4 separate regions of the Homo sapiens genome follow, and regions 1, 2 and 4 are each linked to region 3. The links are contacts of gene promoters, found by promoter capture Hi-C in blood cells and fetal thymus (Javierre and others, 2016). All regions are on one chromosome and are shown on one strand. Each heading gives the region's core, a stretch centred on a gene start or on the middle of the fragment in contact. The rest is flanking DNA. Distances are from core to core; before and after follow the strand shown.

Region 1 (3,221 bases), core at 527-3,026, 230 kb after region 3:
GTGGCTTATAAACAACACACATTTATTTCTCACAGTTCTGGAGGCTGGGAAGGCATTGGCAGATTCAATGTCTAATGAGGGCTTGCTTCCTGGTTCATAGATGGTGTTCTTATGTGGTGGAAGACATGAGGGAGCTCTCTGGGGCTTCTTTTATAAGGGCACTAACTCCATGTTGGCCCCTCGTGACCTGATCACCTCCCAAGAGTCCCACCTCCCAGTGCATCACATAGCGGGTTGGGATTTCAACATATGAATTTTAGGGCATGCAAACACTCAATCTACAGAACTTTAGTTCCATCCTCCCACACCCCCACCCCCGGTATAGTTACACTGGGTGTGTTTAATCAAATCCCTTGCTATTCTTCCCAAAAATTAATGGTGTGATCTACTTACTGGCTTCTGTTTCCCACATAAGCAACTTAGGAATGAGAAAAAAGCTTGTACATTTCAGATCTGTAAAGAACAGTTACCAATTTTCTTATGATACTGCAAAAGACATAGTTTTATCTGATTTCCAGGTCATCTACTGCATTGCTTTGGCCACGGTTTAATCCTATGAAGGTCTCTATCCTAAAAACTATTGGACAAGGTCTCTATTCTTAAGACTTGAGTGTTGTTGTCATTAATAATTTATATGGGCTGGGCACGGTGGTCCCAGCACTTTGGGAGGCCTAGGTGGGTGGATCACCTGAGGTCAGGAGTTTGAGACCAGCCTGGCCAACATGGTGAAACCCTGTATCTACTGAAAATACAGAAGTGAAGTGGGTGTGGTGGTGGACACCTGTAAATCCCAGCTATTCAGGAGGCTGAGGCAGGAGGAGAATCACTTGAACCAGGGAGGCAGAGGTTGCAGTGAGCTGAGATTGTGCCACTGCACTCCAGCCTAGGCAACAAGAGTGAAACTTCATCTCAAAAAATATTAAGAAAATTAAAAATTAAAAATAAAAAAATTAATAGTATATATTGGAGTCATGCACTTCTACAAAAATAGCTGCATGCTGAGTTTGGCTGATTCTTCCATCTTAGAAACAATTTGGTAGGTAAAATTTAAATGTTATTACCCTTACATAGACGAGGCTATTAGTGCACAGGAGGTTAAATTTAAGGTCACACAATTAGTGCTGAGCCAAATGTAGAAATCAGGTTTCCTTGTCTACAATTCCTCCCACTGGACCAAATTCCCCCTTAGAGCAATGCAGAAACAGCATTCTAGAAGGAATTTAGATTTATTTCTAAACTCGATCTGGTTCCATTGTGAGTATAAAAACCTGATTTGCAATCGGAGCCTGGAGTGTCACCCACCGCCTGTGTGGATGATTTTGTTACCAGCTGCTGAAACACTTCAATGGGAAGACATGGAATTCCTGCAGGAAATGACTCCAGGCAGCTCTGAATAAGTGAGGAAATTAAATGACTAACTTCAATGTTTCCTGGTTTTTGTCTATCTTAATTAACAATTTATTTTGGTAAAGGAAAAACTGAATAACTTTTTAATAGTCAACACGTAAAACTTAATATTTGTTTATAATAAAAACATGATTTCCATGTCTACTTTTATTTGCAAAACACCCAGCTTTTTAAATAATTTTCTCCTTCGGTAATTGTGTTTATTGAAGAGTTTCTCTTTAAAAAAACAATGACAGCATATATATGTGGGAAATATCAATTTCCTTCTCATAGTTCCCAAAGGCACACTTATGAAAAATGTGTTGATTATTAACAGAGCTAATATTTTTGTGGTAGTGTTATTACTGAACATCTATAAGAATTGGAGTTTGGGGTTGACAGAGGTGCTGCAGTCCAAATACATTATTGATTTCTATGTCATGTTAAATGTAGCATGGACCTAATTGAACATAATTACTACTTTTGATACATATTTTATGTGGTTCCTACTTTGCCTTCATTCATTTATTCCACAATACTTACTGAATGTCTGCCATGTACCAGGCATTCTTCTAGGTGCTGAGATACAAGGTAAATTAAACAAAGCTCCTGCTCCCATGGAGCTAACGTTCTAGTTGAAGGGAAAACAGACAATTAACAAAAAGACAGGAAAATATGTCAGGGAGTTGTAATTGCTATGAAGAAAAACAGAGTGAGACAAGAATGAGGGAGGGGTACTACCTTAAATGGCGGGGGGTCAGGAAATCAGGGAAATCCTGGGTTTGTCTGTGGAAAGTTAATAATTTCAGACTAATAATCCATCACGGACAACTATCATCGTGGCTGTATAATTGTGACATTCCATTCTTTCCTGGGTTCTACAAGTGTTTAGGAAAAACTTTTAAATTCAAGGTTAATGGTTAGCAATTTCGAGAAAGCTGATTTTATATCCGTGTAACTTCTGTCTTTATTTTTAGCCTTCTTTACAGGACAGTATCTCTTAGGACTAAAGAAGTTGGGGCAAAACCAAAGTTCTCCTCACAGGGCTACTTAACTTTCATGCCAAGCAAACATAAACAAATTTGAATTAGTAATTAAGTTTAGAGACACCAATTACATTTTTACTGAAATTAAATAAAGGCAAATTCTCCTTAATATTTCCAGAATGACTATTAACAACCACAAGTGTTACCTTTTGTTGAACAACATAATGTGCCAAGTACAGAACTTCATGTACATCTTCTTTCTTGTTTTTCAGCAGCCCTAGATATGGGCACAATTGCTCCCATCTTTTAGGTAAGGAAATTGGGACTCTGATAAGTTAAATACTCTCCCTGAGGTCCCAGAAGTAATCATGTCATATTTGGAGTCTGACATCACTTCTGCCTGATCTTATGCGTCTGCAAGGAACAATGAAGATGATCTAATTTAACCTCATTTTACATATGGGTAAACAGAGACAGCTGTGGTGACCTGCCCAGGGTCACAGAACCAGTGAGCTGGTAGCAGAGTTGGGACTAGAGCCCAGTAGGAACTCCTCCGATGACACCGTGCTGCCTCCCAGTGAGAGCTATGCAAGCCAAACTCTGCAACCCACTGCCTTTTCAATGAACATCCAGGTCAGTTGGGTACCCACTTGGGACCAGGATGAATCCTGACTCCTACTCATATCATACATAAAAAATCAATTCCAAGTGCATCATTTATCTAAATGTGAAAAGCAAAATAACAAAGCTTTTAAGAACAGCTACATGATCTTGGGGTAGGCAAAGAAGTGTTGACAACTGTAAAGGTTAAAATGGGTAAATTGAATTATACTAAAAGTAATAACTTTT
Region 2 (3,002 bases), core at 372-2,871, 190 kb after region 3:
AAGGGTTGGATATCAGGAATTCTCTCTATGAATTGATGGAGATCTGCTAATGAATCTTTTCTTAATTGCCCAAAGACAAAATAGTAATTGTTTTTGGTGTAGCATCACAAGGATGGGAAAAGTTTTCATTTCCCATGCCAACTCTGACGCAATGGTAGTTGTTTCTTAGGTTGAGAAGGATTTTGAGGCCAGCTTCAATTTTGAGTTCAGTCAAAGTGTTCTGGGACCAGTACATCATGCTGAACTTTGGAGATTACCATATTTGATAGACCGACCTTATGTGGACATGTTTCCTATTGCAAATACATAAACATATTAAATGTAAAGAGTGTCAAGAAAACACTTTAAAGTATATACTCAAGCAAGCAAGAAAGGGAAAGTTGTGGGTTTCACAAACAAAAAGAAAACTGCAACTTAGAAGGGAGCGCTACAGTTGATGCTGAGGTGTGCCATGGGCTTAGGTCTCAGGAACTGCGGGCTGGGAGTTTAATGCTTAATCTTGACAAGGCATGGCTTGAGGGCTGGGACTCAGACCCTCAATTCCAGATACTCAAAGGGCTACCGGTCTTTGTAAAGGAACTATACAAACAAATATCTTTGGGTCAGACCAAAAACTTGGGATTTAATAGAAGCAAAGATAAAAATGTATCTGAAGAGATCTTTCCACAAGTAAGGGTACATGGGACTTCTACTGGAAAACACCTTTTGCTGAAGATGAGCTAAAATAAATTGCAAACTATATGAAGGACAAACCCACCGTGGTGTAGAGTCAGCAGATGCAATAAATGGGAACACAGTAACCAAGACTGTGAGAAAACAGAACGATCCAAAAGAGACATAAAATAGAAATTCTGAAAATGAATAGAAATAAATGATAGAAATTATATGACAAGCAAATGACCTTCTAATAAAAGAATAAGCAGATTTGAAAAAGAACAAAATAGAAATTGTGAAAAGGAAAAATATTGACATTTAGAATTCAGTAGATGGGTCAAAGAACAAACTAGTCATAATCGAAGGCAGAATTATTGAATCAAAAGGTAGAGCTGAAGAAATCACCCAGAATATAGTACAGAGAGATAAGGAAGTGGAAATTTGAAGGGAGTTTTTGTGATTTGCCTGATAGACTAAAGAGACCCAATACAAATCCAAATGAGAGTTCTGGAATGAAGATATTCAGAGAATTGGGGAAATGTAATGTTGGAAGGCTAGGAGGCTGATAATTTTCTAGAAACGAAGAAAAATTTGAGTCCGCAGAATAAAGAGGCACACTCCAGCAATTGCAGTCTCTCTCCTTCTCTCAATCAGTTTTTTTCCTCTCAATTATGTTATTATCATCAGCAAGAAAAGATATTGCAACAACTTGTCATAGTAAAATAAAGCAAACTTCCCTTGTCTGCTACTCTGCTCCAGATACTACTCCATTCCTCTGCTCCCTTTCACAGCAACACTCATTCAGAGTTGCCTAAAGTCCCCATGTATACTTTCTCTGCTCTTATTCTTTTTCAAAACCCCTCTAATCAGGATTTTATCCTGGTCACCACATAGGAACAGTTTATTACGGTTACTGAGGCTGCCCACATTGCCAAGTCCAGTGGCCGATTCTCCATCTTCATGATGTGCAACTGGCAGCATTGGACAGAGTTGTGTGATTTCTCCTCTTGGAAACGTTTTCTTCTCTTGGCTTCTAGGGACCACTTTCTCTGGGTTCTCCTCATACTGTTCTGATTGTTCCTTTTCAGTTTCCTTGTTGGTTCCTTTTCACCTGTGGACCTTAAACATGAAGTTTTTGAGGATGTAGGCTCCTTCCTTACTCTCTAAGGCAATCTCCTCCCAGTCCTGTGGCTGTGAGTCCTACTGCTAACAACTCCCACATTGCTCTCTCCAGCCTGGACCTCTTCTCTGAAATTCAAATTCCCATATCCAGCCTCCTATACCACAGCTCCATTTTACCATCTGACAGACATCTCAAACTCACTGTCTTCAAAGGAAAACCCCTGACATTGCATCTCTCCCTCCACCTAAACTGTTCTTAACAATTGCCCATGTCACAAAAAGATTTTTTTCATTCTTTCAGTTATTTGGTTCAAAGAATTTCATGTGATGCTTGTATCTTCTCTATCTCATACCCCATATCCAATTCAGCAAATGTCGCCAGTTCTATCCCGAAAAGATACCCAGACTTTGACCATTTCTCAATGCCTCCATCACTACTGCCATGTTCTGTCATCTTTCCTCCATCATCTTTCCTCTGGACCATGGCAGTAGTCTACAACTGGTCATTCTGCTGTCCTTCCTACTTGCATCCCTACACAATAAAATGTCTGTTCTCTGCGCAACAGTCACAATGAGCCTTTTAGACAAATGTCATACTCTATTATTTAAGACTGTTTAGTGGTTTCTCAGAGCCTTTCCAAAGTCTTTGCAATGGACTGGAGGATCCGTGTGCATTACTCACCCCTCCACGTGTCTGACCTGATCCATTCTCCCTCTCACTACTCCTGTCCAGACACATTGGCTTCTATGCTCTTCCTTGAGCACAGCAGGCATTCTCTGACCTCCAGGCTCGTGCTTGTGCTGTATCCTCTGCCGCAATGCTCTTTCCCCAGATATTTAGATAGTTGGTGTCCTCATTTTCTTCAGGTATCTGCTCAAATATCAGCTTATCAAAAAAGACCTCCTGACCACCTTATACATAGTACTCTCCCAGCATCCACTACCCCCATGTCCTAATTTATTTTTTTCCATAGCTCTTATCATTATCAGACATAATGTATTTCCATGAGACTGTTAGTTAATTTCCATTTCCTCCCACCAGAAGGTAAGCTGCATGAACACAGGGACTTTGTCTGATTTGCTCTCTGCTGATCCCTAGTGCCTGGATCTAGCAAGTAGTAGGGGCACAATAAGTATATATCAAGTGAATGAATGAGTTTCAAGCAGAATATACAGCTGACCCTTGGACAACATGGGTTTGAACTGTGTGGGTCCACTTACATGCA
Region 3 (3,118 bases), core at 619-3,118:
TGGGAATCTGGAGGGTAAAATGCCGGGTCCCTTCCCGAGCCCTTAGAGCCCGAACGTTGTCGAATCGGTCAATGTCCACCCCGCTGCTCACCTCTGTCCCAGCAGCGCCGGGGCCAGCGCGCCCTCCCGCCGCGTCTGCGGAGCTGCGGGAAAAGCAGGTCCCCGGGGGGTATCGAGTGTCCAGGGATATCCACGCAGACATCCTTGTACTTGCAAATACAAAGAAACACACAGGACAGAGATCAGGCTCGCGCCAGGGCTCGATCTCCTCGGGGCTCAGGGTTGGAGGCCGTACACAGCCTGGACACAAACTGAGCCAAAGAGTTTATTTTTAGCAAATAAGATATGAGTTTTTAGAAAATTGCTTCGAATAGCAAATCCGAGAAACATTATTTCAAAACGTTGGAATCAAAGGAAATCAAATGCCCACAACCCATTTCCGTCAGTGCTTACAAATGAGCTTCTGCAAAACCCAGTCCACTTAAACATTTGGTCGGAACTCACGAAAAGAACCAAAAGCAAGGCATTCCGAGTCCTGGCGGGGGTTGAGCGGCCGGGCGGACGCCTGGCTATCTCTTCTGGGAGTCGCGCATTCGATCGCATTCAGGTTAAAATTTAAAGCCCCTGGATCCTGCTCCAGTCGCCAGCCTCTCCATTCCAGAGTTTTCTACCTTCAGCCTTTTCCAAATGCGGCCACGCTGAAACTGGGAGCCGCCGCAGTGATTGGGGGAGGCAAAGTGGAACGTAATAAAAGTGACTAAATTGGATGAGAACGGTTTCTGGACCTTCTCGGTAGCAATTTAAAATTCAGAAGTGTTTAGAAGCAATTTACAACGAAGAATGAAAAACGAAGAATTCTCGCCAACTTCCTGAATTCCTTGCCCCCTCCCCCGCACTGCCAGGCCCTGTCCCGCTCCCCCAGGAGCCACAAGTTCACAACTCACAGTTACGTGCAGAGGAAACAACGCTTAGCTACGAGGTCTCACCATCTCTGGAAACCATACTTTACAAGGCACCTCTCCACCCCAGTTCAACTCTGCACAGGCTCCTCTTCCTTCCCTAACTGGGAAAACACGAAAATAGAAACAAAACAAAAAACCAGAGCCTAAACGCTTTCTAGGAGACCGACCTTCAGAAAATCATTTACTTGGATTTACCTGGGCGGGGGGTAGGGGGTGGGGTCGGGGTAAAGTATAAAAATTCATTCTCACAAAAACAACGCCTCTTGTCCTAAAGTCTCCCTCGGCAGCCTTCTGGGGTCACGTCTGTCGGAAGAAATCCTTTCTGTAAGCGAAAGGGAGCGAGACATATATCACGGCTCCTGCAGCGGACGAGCCTGCGGCCGCGCGAGTTGCCGCTGACAGATCGGCGCTGATAACCCCGCGACGTTCATTTCCAGTCCCTTTTGCCCGCTAGGGACCGTATCAGTTTGTACAGAGTTGTGATAACTGTTTGGAGGGAGCGAAGAGGGGGTGTGTATATGAACGTGGGGGTGGGGAAGCAGCATTTAGCGCTGGGTCCAGGGAAGGTGACACCCCCTCTTCGCAGTGACTTATCTGTGACTTACCTGAAACTCTCCAGGGAAATATCAGAAACTCTCCAGGGACATCAAAAGTTGGAGAGCGTCCTCGGACACGACTGATGTGGAAGCCCTTTTCCATTCTGCGTACCCCATAGACTACCTTTCCGTACATGACGACCCGAGTTAAAGTTCCCAAAGGTCAGCTGGGGAATGTTGTCTTGAGGTTCCCGAAACCACCACGACCTGAGCCGTAGCATCCCGAGATAGGGTCGGAGAAAGTTTAAGGTCGGTCTCACACAACTTCAGGGCAAAAAGCGCATTTGCTGTGAAGGGGCTAGGCGGGGGTTGGGGGGCGGGGGGGCGCAGAGCACGTTCCCCCTTCCTTCTGGGGGCGTGCTGACCCAAGGTCTGGAGCGCCCCTCCCGCCGCGGCGGCGGCGCGGGACTGTGCACTGCCAACTCCTCCCGTGCCAAGGCTCCCTCCCCCTCCCTCGTGTGGGTGTGTGTGTGCGACTGCGGGAGCGGGAGGGTGCACCGCCGCTGGATGGGTGCGGGTCGCTAGCCAGGTCAGGCGTTCTGTGGCCTCCGCCCCTCCCCCGGGGTCCCTGGGCTCGGTGCCCCCCGGGTGGACTCGCCCCCACTCCGGGGACAGGGCTTGCGGCTCAGCCCACGCCCGCAGGCAGCGCGGCTCTCATTGTCTGCCTGGGCGGCGCGCTCCCCTCCCCCCTCGCCGTCCCCTCCCCACCCTCTTTTCTCTCCTCCCCTCGATCCCTCCTCCTCCTCTTCACCTCCAGCGCCCAGCTGCTCGCTGAGCGCAGTTCCGACCCACAGCCTGGCACCCTTCGGCGAGCGCTGTTTGTTTAGGGCTCGGTGAGTCCAATCAGGAGCCCAGGCTGCAGTTTTCCGGCAGAGCAGTAAGAGGCGCCTCCTCTCTCCTTTTTATTCACCAGCAGCGCGGCGCAGACCCCGGACTCGCGCTCGCCCGCTGGCGCCCTCGGCTTCTCTCCGCGCCTGGGAGCACCCTCCGCCGCGGCCGTTCTCCATGCGCAGCGCCCGCCCGAGGTTCGGCTGCTTCCTCCTCGCGCGATCTCCCCGCTTTCCTCCCCTCCACCCCTACTCGTCGCGGGCCCCTGGCCTCCGGCTCTCCGGCCCTCTCCAGGCCGCGGTCGGCTCCGACGGTGTTTCCCTCCTTCCCTCCGGGCGGGCTGAGGCGGCTCCCAGGCTCCCGGGACACCGCGGACCAACTTCTAGTCTCTTTTTCTCTCCTCGAAGCGCTTATCTGCGCGCAGCCTTATCTCCGAGTTATCTCGGCGCAAAGGGGCGGGAGCCGGTAGTTAGGCAGGCAGAGAAACTTCTTTCTTGCTATCTAGCCAGGTCTGTGTGTGGGCATTAATTTTAGTGTGGTAATCTCCGATGAGCCGAGGCGATTTGGAAGAGCAGCCTGGAGGAGGCCAGCCCGGCTGCATTTCACCTCCCTCCCCCACTCGCTCCGAGTCTCCCTGTCATTCTTCCTGCTCTCCCATTTGGGGTCGCCTCGGCTCTGGGGCGGTCTCACGCTCCCCCCTCCCCAGCCCGTTGCGTTCCCCCTCCTTTTCTC
Region 4 (3,026 bases), core at 109-2,608, 210 kb after region 3:
AAATATTGCTTTATTTTTATTTGTTAATATTTCTCTAAAATTTTACATTAAATGCTTTCAGCAGCAAGGAGGTTAAAAATTAAGTGCATGATTAATAAAAAATTAAGTGCTGAGTTTCTATTTCTTAAGAAAGTTGATGTTGAAAGGTTAAGTGACACAAACTACTGGTTGGCATTCAAAGTGCTACAGTGGTAACATTGTCAAAACTGCTGAAGAAATGTTACCATCTGCTTCCAAGTTAGTAGTTAAGTAGTGTAGTGGGTTGAATGGTAGTCCACCCAAAATGTATGTATACTCAGAACCTGTGAAAGTGACCTAATTTTTAAAAAGAGGTCTTACCTGCAGATGTAATTAAGGATCTCAAGATGAAATCATTCTGGATGATCCAGGTGAGCCCTAAATCCTATGACAAGTGTCATTCTAAGACAGAGAAGAGGAGACAGAGACATGGAGGAGAAGGCCATATGAAGATGAAGATGGAGATGGAGTGCTGTGGCCACAAGCAAAGCTGACAGCCACCAGAAGCTGGAAGGAGCAAGGAGCGATTGTCACCCAGAGCCTTCAGTGGGAGTGTGGCCCTGTGGACACTTTGATTTTGGACTTCTGGCCTCCAGAACTGTAAGAATAAATTCTGTTCTTTTAAGCCACCATGTTTGTAGCAATTGGTTATGCAAACTTAAAAGACAAATAACAAGTAGTCTCAATGATTCAACACATGAACCTACAGCAGGAAGGTTACATATTACCCCGTGAAGCATAATTTCTCACTTTGACTACGTATCTGTTTTTCTAAATCCACTTAATCCTTTTCATTCTAAATTTTCTTTGTATGTAAGAAAATGAAGCTGTACTCTAAATGAATTGTCTCCATTTGCAGGAAAAGAACTTTGCACACAGTTAAATGATGCCAGATTTTCATCACTGTCATCAGATGCGTTATAAAGAAAATTAGTTAATTTCAGTAATGTCTGGATTTATTTTATCCAATTCACGGAATTAATCTCATTCATGGAAGCTCCCCGTCACAGTGGGGACATCTGACATTATTTCAAATGCTACTGTAAAATAAGACAACAAGTCCAACATTGAAGAGAGATATATATATGTATATATATATTTTTTTTTTGCAGAGTTGATACAAATATAAATATACACATTTTGTCAGTGGTGATGGAGCGGGGTGGGTGGGGAGGTTGCTGAGCAGTGCGTTGATGTTCAACAGGTTTCACAGCCACCTCCAAAGCAGTGCAATCCAGATGAAGGACAGAGAAGTTATGAAGGATGCGTTCACCAACTTGTAGTCGCCAGGCAATGGACGGGCACACTCAGGACCCATTGGGACAGATGCAGCACAGTGCAAAGCCAGCAATGGTAATTAGAACAACCTCTGCAGATTCACCCTCCCTCTCTCGCTCCCTCCCTCCTTCCCTCCCTCCCTCCTTCTTTCCTTCCTTCTTTCATCATTTTATTATGTGAATTTTCAAAATTATGAAAGCCAGAATAGTACAATGAACCTTATGTCCCTGTCACCTAGCATCAATATCAATATGGATATCTTGCTAAATTTGTTCAATCTATCTCCCTCCAACCTTTGCTTTTTGCTAAGGTAGTTTAAAATAAATCCCAGAACCATGCCACTTCACCCATAAATGCTACATTATTATGAATGATTTCTTTCTGCTAGTGAAACTAATGAATATTTATTATAGACAATTCAGATAAGCATAAAGGGGAAATTAAAGTTGCCCACACTCCTACAATCTACATCACTGTTAATTTTTGATGTTTTTTGATCTAGTCCTTTAAATTACGTGTATGTGTGAATATATATATTTAATATATCCTATCTATCAGTATGTTAATCAGTGAGAAGGCCTTCTGTAACAGAAAACCCAGTTCACACTTGCTTAAACAAGAAGTGGAACTTTTTTGGCTTATATACTTGAAACATTCAGTGGCAGGGTAGGTTTCATGCCTGGCTTGATTAGACCTCCTGCTCAGTTTCTTCATCGTTCTCTAGTGACTCTTGTATATTGATTGGCTTTATTCTCGGGCTGGCTTCCCTTCTGGCAACAAGACTAGGATTCAGGCTCTCACATCCATCTTCACAGGGAGGAAGAGCCCCACTTCTCATAGCTTTTGCATAAGAGTCCTGAGCTCTACTTGGATTGGCCCACTTGTGAACTAATCACTAAAACAAGGGACCCGAGAATACCCTGTTTGAACAACTTGGATCCTTGGGAGGTAGGGGCGGGAGGATGCACCCAAACACCATGTCTTCACCCAATGGTGGAGGTGTTAAGAGATGGCATGGACGTTGGGGAGGAAGCCTTAACGTGTATTATCCTATGCCTTCTTACTTTATGTATGTATCTATTTATATTCTCCCTGTCTCTTTAAATCTTGGAAATTTAGTTCGCCTCCCTCCCCTTTTCACATTCAAGATAAACACACAATGCCCACTGCAAGCTACATGAATTTCTGGGGTTTGGGAGGTGAGGGGAAGGTGGCCACTTTGGGCTCTTCCTTCCTCCTTCTGCTGGACTCTTGCTCTCTACTCTGTGACTTGCACTGACCCCAGTTGTGGAATTTGCCCCTTCCTTGCATATCCCAAGAGAAACAACTTATATAAAATATTTGCATATCTGGTAGACTCCACTTAAGGTTTAGGGCATTTGAGGAGGGAGGGTTCTCAACAGGGGTGATTTTGCCACTCGAAGGACATTTGGCAACAACTAGAGACGCTTTTGATTGTTACAACATTTTTGGTTGTTACAAGTGCTACTGTCATTTAAGATAGTAGAGACCAAGGATGCTGCAAGGCACAGGACAGCCCTCCCCAAATGAGTTATCCTCTCTATGTGTCTTTGTTGAGAAGCTCTGCTTTAAGATATCTGGAAGTCCTGGGGCCATACTTGATGGTGCTTGGCAGTTCCCTCCGATTCCTTTCTACGTTCCTTCTTCATTGCTTTTCCTCATCCATAATTCCTCTTTATTTCTAATACAGAGCTAGCTAGCTATTCCCT

What was found. Contacts are between HindIII fragments. The CHiCAGO score rates a contact against its expected background, and 5 or more counts as called.
Region 1: a fragment that was not itself captured here is called in contact with the fragment with the promoter of GATA6-AS1 in region 3 in 1 of 17 cell types (endothelial precursors); the score reaches 5.0 in endothelial precursors.
Region 2: a contact is called between a fragment that was not itself captured here and the fragment with the promoter of GATA6-AS1 in region 3, in 2 of 17 cell types (naive CD8 T cells and total CD8 T cells). The highest score is 6.0, in naive CD8 T cells.
Region 4: a contact is called between a fragment that was not itself captured here and the fragment with the promoter of GATA6-AS1 in region 3, in 1 of 17 cell types (total CD8 T cells). The highest score is 5.6, in total CD8 T cells.

Annotation. Positions count from the first base shown.
Region 1 is chr18:22,397,304-22,400,524 of GRCh38, forward strand. No RefSeq gene overlaps it. Among named protein-coding and RNA genes, the nearest start is that of CTAGE1, 19 kb to the right of the region's middle. The HindIII fragment of the contact is 2,683 bases long and covers 436-3,118 here.
Region 2 is chr18:22,361,207-22,364,208 of GRCh38, forward strand. No RefSeq gene overlaps it. Among named protein-coding and RNA genes, the nearest start is that of CTAGE1, 55 kb to the right of the region's middle. The HindIII fragment of the contact is 8,909 bases long and covers 1-3,002 here.
Region 3 is chr18:22,167,100-22,170,217 of GRCh38, forward strand. It overlaps GATA6-AS1 (GATA6 antisense RNA 1 (head to head)), which reads right to left and starts at 1,869. Exons shown (of 2, transcript NR_102763.1): 1 at 1,568-1,869; 2 at 1-1,284. GATA6 (GATA binding protein 6) reads left to right here and starts at 2,490. Exons shown (of 7, transcript NM_005257.6): 1 at 2,490-2,583. RefSeq lists an enhancer at 135-638. The HindIII fragment of the contact is 8,900 bases long and covers 1-3,118 here.
Region 4 is chr18:22,379,108-22,382,133 of GRCh38, forward strand. No RefSeq gene overlaps it. Among named protein-coding and RNA genes, the nearest start is that of CTAGE1, 37 kb to the right of the region's middle. The HindIII fragment of the contact is 5,755 bases long and covers 1-3,026 here.